2 separate regions of the Homo sapiens genome follow, and region 1 is linked to region 2. Evidence: promoter capture Hi-C in 16 types of primary human blood cells and fetal thymus (Javierre and others, 2016). All regions are on one chromosome and are shown on one strand. The core of a region is centred on a gene start or on the middle of the fragment in contact, and the rest is flanking DNA. Distances in the headings are between cores, read along the strand shown. Region 1 holds the start of HNRNPC (heterogeneous nuclear ribonucleoprotein C). Region 2 overlaps TEP1 (telomerase associated protein 1).

The links. The method cuts DNA at HindIII sites, captures the fragments that hold promoters and counts their contacts. A CHiCAGO score of 5 or more calls a contact.
Region 1: the fragment with the promoter of HNRNPC here is called in contact with a fragment that was not itself captured in region 2 in 1 of 17 cell types (monocytes); the score reaches 6.2 in monocytes.

What each region holds. Positions count from the first base shown.
Region 1 is chr14:21,267,175-21,271,973 of GRCh38, forward strand. HNRNPC (heterogeneous nuclear ribonucleoprotein C) reads right to left here and starts at 2,268. Exons shown (of 9, transcript NM_004500.4): 1 at 2,124-2,268. RefSeq lists enhancers at 1-247, 1,747-2,371, 2,009-2,268, 2,372-2,997 and a silencer at 2,359-2,438. The HindIII fragment of the contact is 8,584 bases long and covers 1-4,799 here.
Region 2 is chr14:20,408,175-20,412,918 of GRCh38, forward strand. TEP1 (telomerase associated protein 1) reads right to left here. Exons shown (of 55, transcript NM_007110.5): 2 at 1-289. The coding sequence starts at 265. Among named protein-coding and RNA genes, the nearest start is that of TEP1, 3.0 kb to the right of the region's middle. RefSeq lists enhancers at 4,165-4,744, 4,191-4,360. The HindIII fragment of the contact is 788 bases long and covers 3,101-3,888 here.

The DNA.
Region 1 (4,799 bases), core at 1,018-3,517, 860 kb after region 2:
GGCAACAAAAAATTTGAATTAGAAACTAAAAATTCAAATAGGTTTTAAAAAAAAGTCTAAGTCCCCTTATTTGCCTAAGGAGGATTAAAATCTATTTCTCCTAACTCCTAGGCAAACTTACTCCCCAGCCAACACCTCTCACATTCAACACTTTATTAAGATTTAATAATTTGCCCCTTAGTCTTTAAAATTAGAGCAACTAGCTATTTTGGAGTTTATTCTTTGCTTGTTTCGCACAGCCATTCCATCCAAAACAAGGTCGAATGCCATGTCAAATCCTCTAGAGATTTAATTACAAACGTAAGCTGTTTAAATTCTCTACAGAAGGAACATCAACCACCAAGTATTCCCGAGAGTGGCACTAGCATGAGGGGGAAAAAAAAGGTCAGAAAACCTGCAACCTGGCCATCCTTCTTCAACTTTTCCCCCTAGCCAATATGAAAATGTTACTAAACGCCTATCTAGTTGAGAACACACCTAGAATTGTGATATAAATACCGTGGCAAACAGTTTCGGATATTAACTCAAAGAATTTTTGGTGCGCTGATATACATACTGACCGGAAGGAACCCATTTTCGAAAACCTCAAAGAAAAGTGCCCGTCAATCAATTTCAACTACTATTAACAGTTCTTAAATACTAATTTCTGACATTTCTCCTTGCCAACATTTTTACTTCATGATTTCCCATTTTTACCCTAACCTCATTTCTAACAGTTCAGCACAATGATAAACTTTAGTTTTAAGTTCCTGTAATAATATACATGTTTAAGCCTTAAGAAAGGGGTCGCGATGTTTTTGACCCTTATTTTACTTCCTATCAAATAGATTGCCTTACAGATGAATTTCTTACCCTGCAGAATGGGTTTAAACTGTGCTTAACAGCTTTAGTTTTTGTGAGATTAACAGATTGTGAAAAATAAACTTAGCCAAATCTCATGTGAGGATTAAAAAAAGCGATGTCCCAGATAAGTCAATGTGACACTAAAGATCTAAACAATTTTTTTTAACTTTTAAGTTTTTTATCAAATTTCAGCACCCAGCAAATAATAGGCACTGTTAATATTTGCTTAATATAACGTAGCTGTGAATTTTTGCCCACATTTAGGCGGACGGGAAAATTAACGCCAGAATATCCCGAAAGTCAAATTTTGTCATCTTACACTTAGGAAGTTACGTTAAAAAATTCTCAAGTCTCGTAGTATTTTTCTTAAGCGCAATTTGGGAATTTCCAGTTACCTCGTGGTTTCCGTCATCAGGTTCTTGGCAAAGATTGCAATACAGTAGTTTTAGAACTATATTAACTAGGTATTCCATTAACTAGGTAAAAACCACTCGACTGACCTCGTGGTCAAATTCCTTACTAGTGCTGCTACTGACTTAATATGACCCTAGCAACCAACACTTTTCTGCCTCAGTTTCCGTCTGAGAAAGAGAGTTAATACCTACCTCAAGCAAAGTTCCACTAACTTATATATTTCAAGTGTTTTGTAACCTGCAGATGAAAAGTCAGCTGTAAATATTAATATAGTTATATCACAATATTTCCTTTTACAAATGTAAGTGAAAATAACTACTTCGAGCTCCATCATTTGCTCATAGAGAGAAATAAAATAAAAAGTTATCAGTAAAATGCTGAATCTTTTGTTAAACCTTTCTCGTAGGCCACGCGGCACGATCCAGGATTTAAAGGCTCGCGATACATCTACTTGGTAACCTTCCCCCTTCCCCTCCCCCACTTTTTACATGTAAGAAGAACGGAGGTAATAGAAGGCATCGGCGCTACGTTAACTTCGACTATATTAATGAGCATCACGATCTTCATTTTCATGATCCCGTAGTCCTCGCGGTCGTAGAAAATGAAAGGAAAGCAGCCGTTAACACAGGAAGAGCGAAAAAAGGACATTTTCCCTGGCGATCGTGGCCTAGAGGACACCAGGTTAAACCTATACAGAGGCTGAGGCCTATAAAACTGCCCCCGGCTTCAACCTAATCCCCCAAAACAAGCAGAATAAATGAGGGCCCGGTTAGTTAGGGGGAAGGATTCCCACATCTTCTCTCCCACACCCCCTCTCGCTTCCCGAAAAACCCAGCGCCTTCCCTGCGTCCGCCCTCTCCACTTACCAAGAAGGGGAGGGAGAAGAGATTCGATTCTGAGTCTCCTACTCCCGGGTTCTGCGTAGAGAAGCCGACTGCTGCTGGAGGTCGGCAACGCGGCCACAACCGCTCAGTCTTCGTCTCTTCACAAAATGGCCCCCGAGTCTCCTCTGCCGCCGAGGCGAAGGCCTAGTCCCCGCCCCATTCCTGAGAATCTTCCTATTGGCTGTGCGTTTTTTCGCTCCCGCTCCTAATTAGACAGTTCAACCGCTCCTCACAATGATATCCAATCACAATTAGCAGTGGGTTAGACTAAGCAGGCGAATTTCCACATGCGTGAGAGAAACTAGTTTATAACTGGTTAGTTTTCCTGTCATTTATTGCCTGGAGAATGCTTATTGGCTATTGCACGGGACGACCCTCTGGGTGGAAACTCGCCTTTGTATCGCGCACCGTCTCACATCCGGGTATCTGGGAGGCCTGATTGGCGGCCGCGGCGTCCTATCGCTGCCCCTTAGAGTGCCTAGTAGAAGATCCGCCCAGACCTCGGATTTCCGGCTGCGCGGGGGCGGGGAAAGGGTTGAGGGGCGTAGTTAGGTGACGGGCGCAAAAGACCTGCCCCAGCCCCGGGCCTAGGGAAAAAAAAGCGCGAAATGAAGCCTCCGTTGTGCAATGTGAATAAAGAAAGGACTTTTCTTAAAATGAGGAGGGAGCAGCAGTGACTAGGCCTTGTTAAAGTGTGTAGAAAACTAACCAGTCCTGCAGTTTTTCCAACCCCAGACCCTTTCTCAGTTCCAGATTCGAATGTCAGCTACCTCGTAGACATCTGCTTCTTGGCCTATTAAACCCTTCTTCAGACAACACATGTTCCATCGAAACCAACTGACTTCCTTATTCCTCTCCAATATAAAAAGGAAGTGCAGAATCCTGGCCTCTGGCCCCAGGGCATCTAATATCTTAAGTGCCAGCAAAATTGGCCCATCCTTCCAAATCTGGTCCCTTAATTTCCCTCCTCTTGAAATGGCTTGTCTCCTACCTACCCCCGTCACCTGCCAGTCTCTCTGGTTACATTATAGGAACTGCGCACGCAGTGGGGTAGCATCAGCTCTACTAAGCCAGCGGTTTCTTTTTTCTTTTCTTTTTTTTTTTTTTTTTTTTTTTTTTTTGAGGCAGAGTCACTGTCGCCCAGGCTGGAGTGCAGTGGCGCGATCTTGGCTCACTGCAACCTCCGCCTCCCGGGTTCAAGCGATTTTCCTGCCTCAGCCTCCTGAGTAGCTGGAACTACAGGTGCGCGCCACCATGTCCAGCTAATTTTTGTATTTTTAGTACAGATGGGGTTTCGCCATGTTGGCCAGACTGTTCAGGTGATCCGCCCGCCTCTGCCTCCCAAAGTGATAAGATTATAGGCGTGAGCCACCACGCCAGACCACTTTAAACTATTTTAAAAAGCAAAGACGAAAAATATGGGAGAAAGTATACACTAAAGTGTTAGTAGTGGTTCTCTCCTGGTGGGAAAATTACATGTGATTTTTTTTTTTAACTTTTTTTTTTTCAAACGGAGTCTCGCTTTGTCACCAGCCTGGAGTGTAGTGGCGCCATCTTGGCTCACTGCAACCTCCGCCTCCTAGGTTCAAGCGATTCTCCTGCCTCAGCCTCCCGAGTAGCTGGAACTACAGGTGCGTGCCACCACGCCCAGCTAATTTTTGTATTTTTAGTAGAGACGGGGTTTCACCATGTTGGCCAGGATGGTCTCCATCTCTTGACCTCGTGATCCGCCCGCCTCAGCCTTCCTAAGTGCTGGGATTACAGGCGTGACCCACCGCGCCCAGCCTTAAAATCTTATTGTACTTTTCTATATTTTCCAAATCATCTACTTTGAGCAAGTAATCAGAGGGAGAATATCCTACGAGTGCTTAAAGCCTCGACTCAATTGCCACATTGCAATTTATTTAAAATTATCTCGTAGCACTGTGGGTAGTTTTACACTCCTCTCCCTTCCTGGATGGTAAGATTTTTTGATGGCAGAGTTTAATTCTTACTCTTCAATATATTTTCCTTGTTTACTACCTATTAATAAATTAATAAAATATTAACCATTAACTTTTATTTATCAGGGGAAATTTTTATTTTTCCAGGACAAGCAGATAGACTGTCCTTTTTTTCTCTCTCTTTCTTTTGAGATGAGGTCTTGTTCTGTTGCCCAGGCTGTAGTGCATTGGCATAATCCCGGATGATTACAGCTTCAACCACCCAGTCGCAAGCAATCCTCCCACCTCAGCCTCTGGAGTAGCTGAGACCACAGGTGTGCACCACCACATTGGCTAATTTTATTTTTATATTTTGTAGAGACAGCGTCTTACCATGTTGCCCAGGCTAGTTTTGAACTCCTGGGCTCAAGCATTCCTCCCTCCTTGGCCTCCCAAAATGCTGGGAGGCACCATGCCAGCCCTGTCTTTTCTTTCTTTTCTTCTTTTTTTTTTGAGACAGAGTATTGTTCTGTCGCCCAGGCTGGAATGGAGCGGCGCAATCTCGGCTCTCACTGAAAGCTCCGCCTCGCCGGGTTCAGGTCATTCTCCTACCTCACTCAGCCTCCCGAGGAGCTGGGACTACAGGCGCCCGCCACCGCGCCCGGCTAAATTTTTTTTGTATTTTTAGTAGAGACGGGGTTTCACCGTGTTAGCCAGGATGGTCTCGATCTCCTGA
Region 2 (4,744 bases), core at 2,245-4,744:
TCAGGTCAGAAAGTGTGGCCAGGCACTGGTTCTCCAAGGAGAGGATGTCTGGGTGGGCAGACACATATCCATGTGGTTTTTCCATGGTCTTCAGGTCAGGAAGCGTGGCTAGGCACTGGTTCTTCAAGGAGAGGATATCTGAGTGGGTAGATACATGCTGATGTAGTTTCTCCAAGGGCTGTAAGTCAGGGAGCATAGCCAGGCACCGGTTCTCCAAGGAGAGGATGTCTGGATGGGCAGACACATGCCCATGGAGTTTTTCCATGGCTGAAACTCAGCTTGTATATGCCTAGAAGGAGAGAAAGACAGGAGATGAGCACCTGGCTGCACTGAGCGTGTATTTGCATGAGAGCATATCTTCCCCACAGCCCTCCTGATAATGCCAATGATTTGTGGGTAGAAAACAACCAATGTTGTTTTTCCCAGGACTGGGTTCATCCAGAGAATATTCTAAGAGAGAGGGATAGGGAAAAGGTAAGGCAGAGGCTTAAGAGCAGAGAAATTAAGAAAAGGCCAGGTGCAGTGGCTCATGCCTGTAATCCCAACACTTTGGGAGCTGAGGCAAGAGGATTCCTTGAGCCCAAGAGTTTGAGGCAAGCCTGGGCAACACGGTGAAACCTCATCTCTACAAAGTTTTAAAAAATAAAAAATATTTCTTAAAAAAAAAAACAACAAAAAGGAATGGCTGGAGAGGAAGGGACATGCCTTCTCATAAGAAGGTAAAGGAGACCCAACCCCCCTGACCCCCGCTGCAGGACTATCAGTTTGATCCCTACTTAGTAGAGAGGCCTCGCAATATAATCTGGACTGTGGGTTCATAGCTCCAGAGAAACAGGTACTTTAATCAAGTTGTCAATATTCACCACCCCAGCTTCCTTGCCTCCTATTCACTCTTTAACCAACTAAATGGGATTCTGTCCCCACCAGTCCACAAGTCCTCTTAGGTAACCAAGGAACTTTTTCTTACTCCCATAAATAAATATATCTTGGCCTTTATCTTATTTCACCCCTCAAGTAGAATATGACATTGTTGATTACTCTCTCATTAAAACTCTCTCTTCCTTTGCTTTCCATGATGCTACTGTCCTGATTTTCTTCTTAAAACTATTCTGACTAGATCTTCTGAGGGATTCTTTCTCTGCCATTTCTTAACATCAATGCTCCTTGCAGTTCTATTCTAATCCTTTTACATACTTTCCTGGAGTGGTCTCACCCACTATGTGGCTCCAAATGACATTTCTATGCTGGCGACTCACAGATCTATTCCTGGACCTAGATCTCCCTTCTGAGCTTCATATTCACTTATCCATTTCCCCGTTGGACATCCCCACTGGATGACTCAAAGGTGCTCCAAATTCCACAGATCCTAAATGTATCATCTTTCTCCTTCTCATATCTCTGCCCCAAATCCATTCCCCTTCCTTTGCCCCCTTTGCCCACTGGAGTTGGAAGTGAGACAGACTTTACTTTGAATCCTCCTTTACCTTGGGATCTTGGTTGGATAAGATACTTAAATTCTCTGTGTCTCTAGGGTTTTCTCATTTATAAAATTAAGAAAAATGCTGGCCGGGCGCGGTGGCTCACGCCTGTAATCCCAGCACTTTGGGAGGCCGAGGCGGGCGGATCACAAGGTCAGGAGATCGAGACCATCCTGGCTAACACAGTGAAACCCCATCTCTACTAAAAAAATACAAAAAATTAGCCAGGCAGGGTGGCGGGCACCTGTAGTCCCAGCTACTCGGGAGGCTGAGGCAGGAGAATGGCGTGAACCAGGGAGGCGGAGCTTGCAGTGAGCCCAGATTGGCCACTGCACTCCAGCCTGGGCGACAGAGCAAGACTCTGTCTCAAAAAAAAAAAAAAAAAAAAAAAAAAAAAAAAAAAATGCCTACCTCACAGAGTTGTTATAGAAATAAATGAGAAAAAAATATTAGGCACTTTGAGCATTGCCTGGCACTAAGTGTTCAATATAGAAGCTATTATTATTTGTTATTATTATCCAGTAAACTACTAAATTCTATTGATTCTACTCCCTCAGTGTCTCTCAGATCTATCCAATTCTCTCCATTCCTCCTACCACCACCTTTGTTGAAACCCTCTAATCCATGTGGTGACATACTGTATATAGATTTGTCTAAAGGACCTCCCTGCTAGAGCCAGATGTGGTAGCCTGCAATCCCAGTGACTCTCAGAGGCTGAGGCAGGAGGATCACTTGAGCCCAGGAGTTTAAAACCAGCCTGAGCTACATAGTGAGACTCCTTTTTTTTTGAGACAGAGTCTTGCTCTGTCACCCAGGCTGGAGTGCAATGGCACGATCTTGGCTCACTGCAACCTCCGCCTCCCAGGTTCAATCCATTCTCCTGCCTCAGCCTCCCGAGTAGCTGGAATTACAGGCGCCCGCCACTATGCCCAGCTGATTTTTTTTTCTTTTTTTTTTTTTGTATTTTTAGTAAGAGACAGGGTTCCACTATGCTGGCCAGGCTGGTCTCGAACTCCTGACCTTGTGATCCACCCACCTTGGCCTCCCAAAGTGCTGGGATTACAGGTGTGAGCCACTGTGCCTGGCGGACTCCTTTTTTTTTAAGCATGTTTGCTTATTAGCCCACTTGCTAATTGTTTCTCCTTTGTGGTTTTTTTTTTTTTTTTTTTTTTTTTGCTTTTTGTTTTTTGAAACGGAGTCTCACTCTATTGCTGGCTGGAGTGCAGTCGCACAGTCTCAGCTCACTGCAACCTCGACTTCCCGGGTTCAAGTAATTCTCCTGCCTCAGCCCCCCAAGTAGCTGGGATTACAAGTGCCTGCCACCACACCCAGCTAATTTTTGTATTTGTAGTAGAGACAGGGTTTCACCATGTTCATCAGGATGGTCTCAATCTCCCGACCTCATGATCCACCCACCTCAGCCTCCCAAAGTGCTAGGATTACAGGCGTGAGCCACCGCACCCAGCCTAATTGTTTCTCTTTACTGAAATACAACTCCTTAAGGTAAGGGCTCCTTTGTCTTGCTCCCCTCTGCATCTTCAGCATCATACACAAAACCCGACTTCCGGTCACCTCCCAGCATCATCTCTCACTAACACCCCGATCTAACCCTCAGCACTCTAAGCTTCAATCATACAAATTTTATTTAGCTTATTAATTGCCAAGGTATCTCTTGACTACGGGCCTGTGCACAGGCAGATCCCTGGAACACTCTTTCTTCTACCAATACCACCCCTCCTTTACAAGGCCAAATGCTACTTTCCTCTCACTCTACAGACTTCAGTTTCATCAACTCCTCCAAAAAGCCTGTGCTGACACCAAGCCCCAGTCTGATTTAGGTGGCCTTCTCCTTGTTTTCACAACACCCATATGTCCCCTATCATAGAGCACATCACCTGTTTGTCTTTCTTCCCAATAGACCATTAAGTTCCTGAGGAGAGAGACCCTTTTAGCCTTGTTCCCACAATTGCTGGTCAGCGGGATTCAGAGGCTTTTGAGAATCTGGTAAAAGCTATGGAGCTTTTTCACAGAAAAAAAAAAAGTATATACTGTTTTGTGCTCAATTTTCAGAGTGTCTATGAAGCCCATTTATGGACCTCCCAGGATCTCCATAAACTGAAAATTAGAAACCTCTGCCTAACAGAATGCTTGAATTATACCATCAGGAACCTATTTTCTGGCTGGGTGTGGTGGCTCACACCTGTAATCCTAGCATTTTGGGAGGCTGAGGTGGGAGAATCACTTGAGGTCAGGAGTTCAAGACCAGCCTGGGCAACATAGTGAGACCTCTATTTAAAAAAAAAAAGGAATGTATTTTCTTACTTATTTGGACAAAGGCTAATCTCTCATTCATATGTAAATATTTTGGGAATAATATTGTTAAGTCAACCACCTAAACTTAGTGTGAAAAAGCTTAGGGACAAAAGTACAGAACACTTCCAAGAAGACCTGAATGACTAACAATCCAGGGCCAAAAAGGACAACAATATCTCACTGGACGTCAGTGTGACAAACACGTAAAAAATGATGGCTTCTGTGCCCAATACACTTTGCTCATGTCGTTGCCCTATATAAGCCCCCAAGGAAAGGAGTGGGGAAACTCAGAATTGACTCAGATTTTTTTTAAAAGAGATCTCAAGCCAAAAATAAACAGAAAAATAAGGACAGTTTATTTGAGCAACATAGTGAGACTGTCCTATCCTTAAAAGGACAGTCTCACTATTTTGCTCATTTTATTGTTTTGCACCCTGGAGTTTTTGAAAGGAGATTCGGCTGAACCACAAATGGAAAGTTAAAGTTCCGTCCCCACTTCCATCTCTAGTTCCCTTCTCTGGAAGTAAACATTGCTCACAGTTTTATACTAACAGTTTCACAGTTTCTATGCATATGCAAATACATGCCTTCACCATCACCACTGCTTTTGCTTTTGCTTTACACAAACAGGATCATAAGTTAGATGCTATTCTGCACTTAGTATATCTCAGAGACCTTGCCCTGTTAACACATTAATACCCACCTCACTCTTTCCTTTTTTTTTTTTTTTTTTTTTTGAGGCGGAGTCTGGCTCTGTTGTTCAGCTCACTGCAATCTCTGCCTGCCGAGTTCAAGCGATTCTCCTGCCTTAGCCTTCCGAGTAACTGGGATTACAGGCGCCCACCACCATGCCCGGCTAATTTTTTTGTATTTTCAGTAGAGAGGGTTTTCACCATGTTGGTCAGGCTGGTCTCAAACTCCTGACCTCAGGTGATCCCCAACCTCCGCCTCCC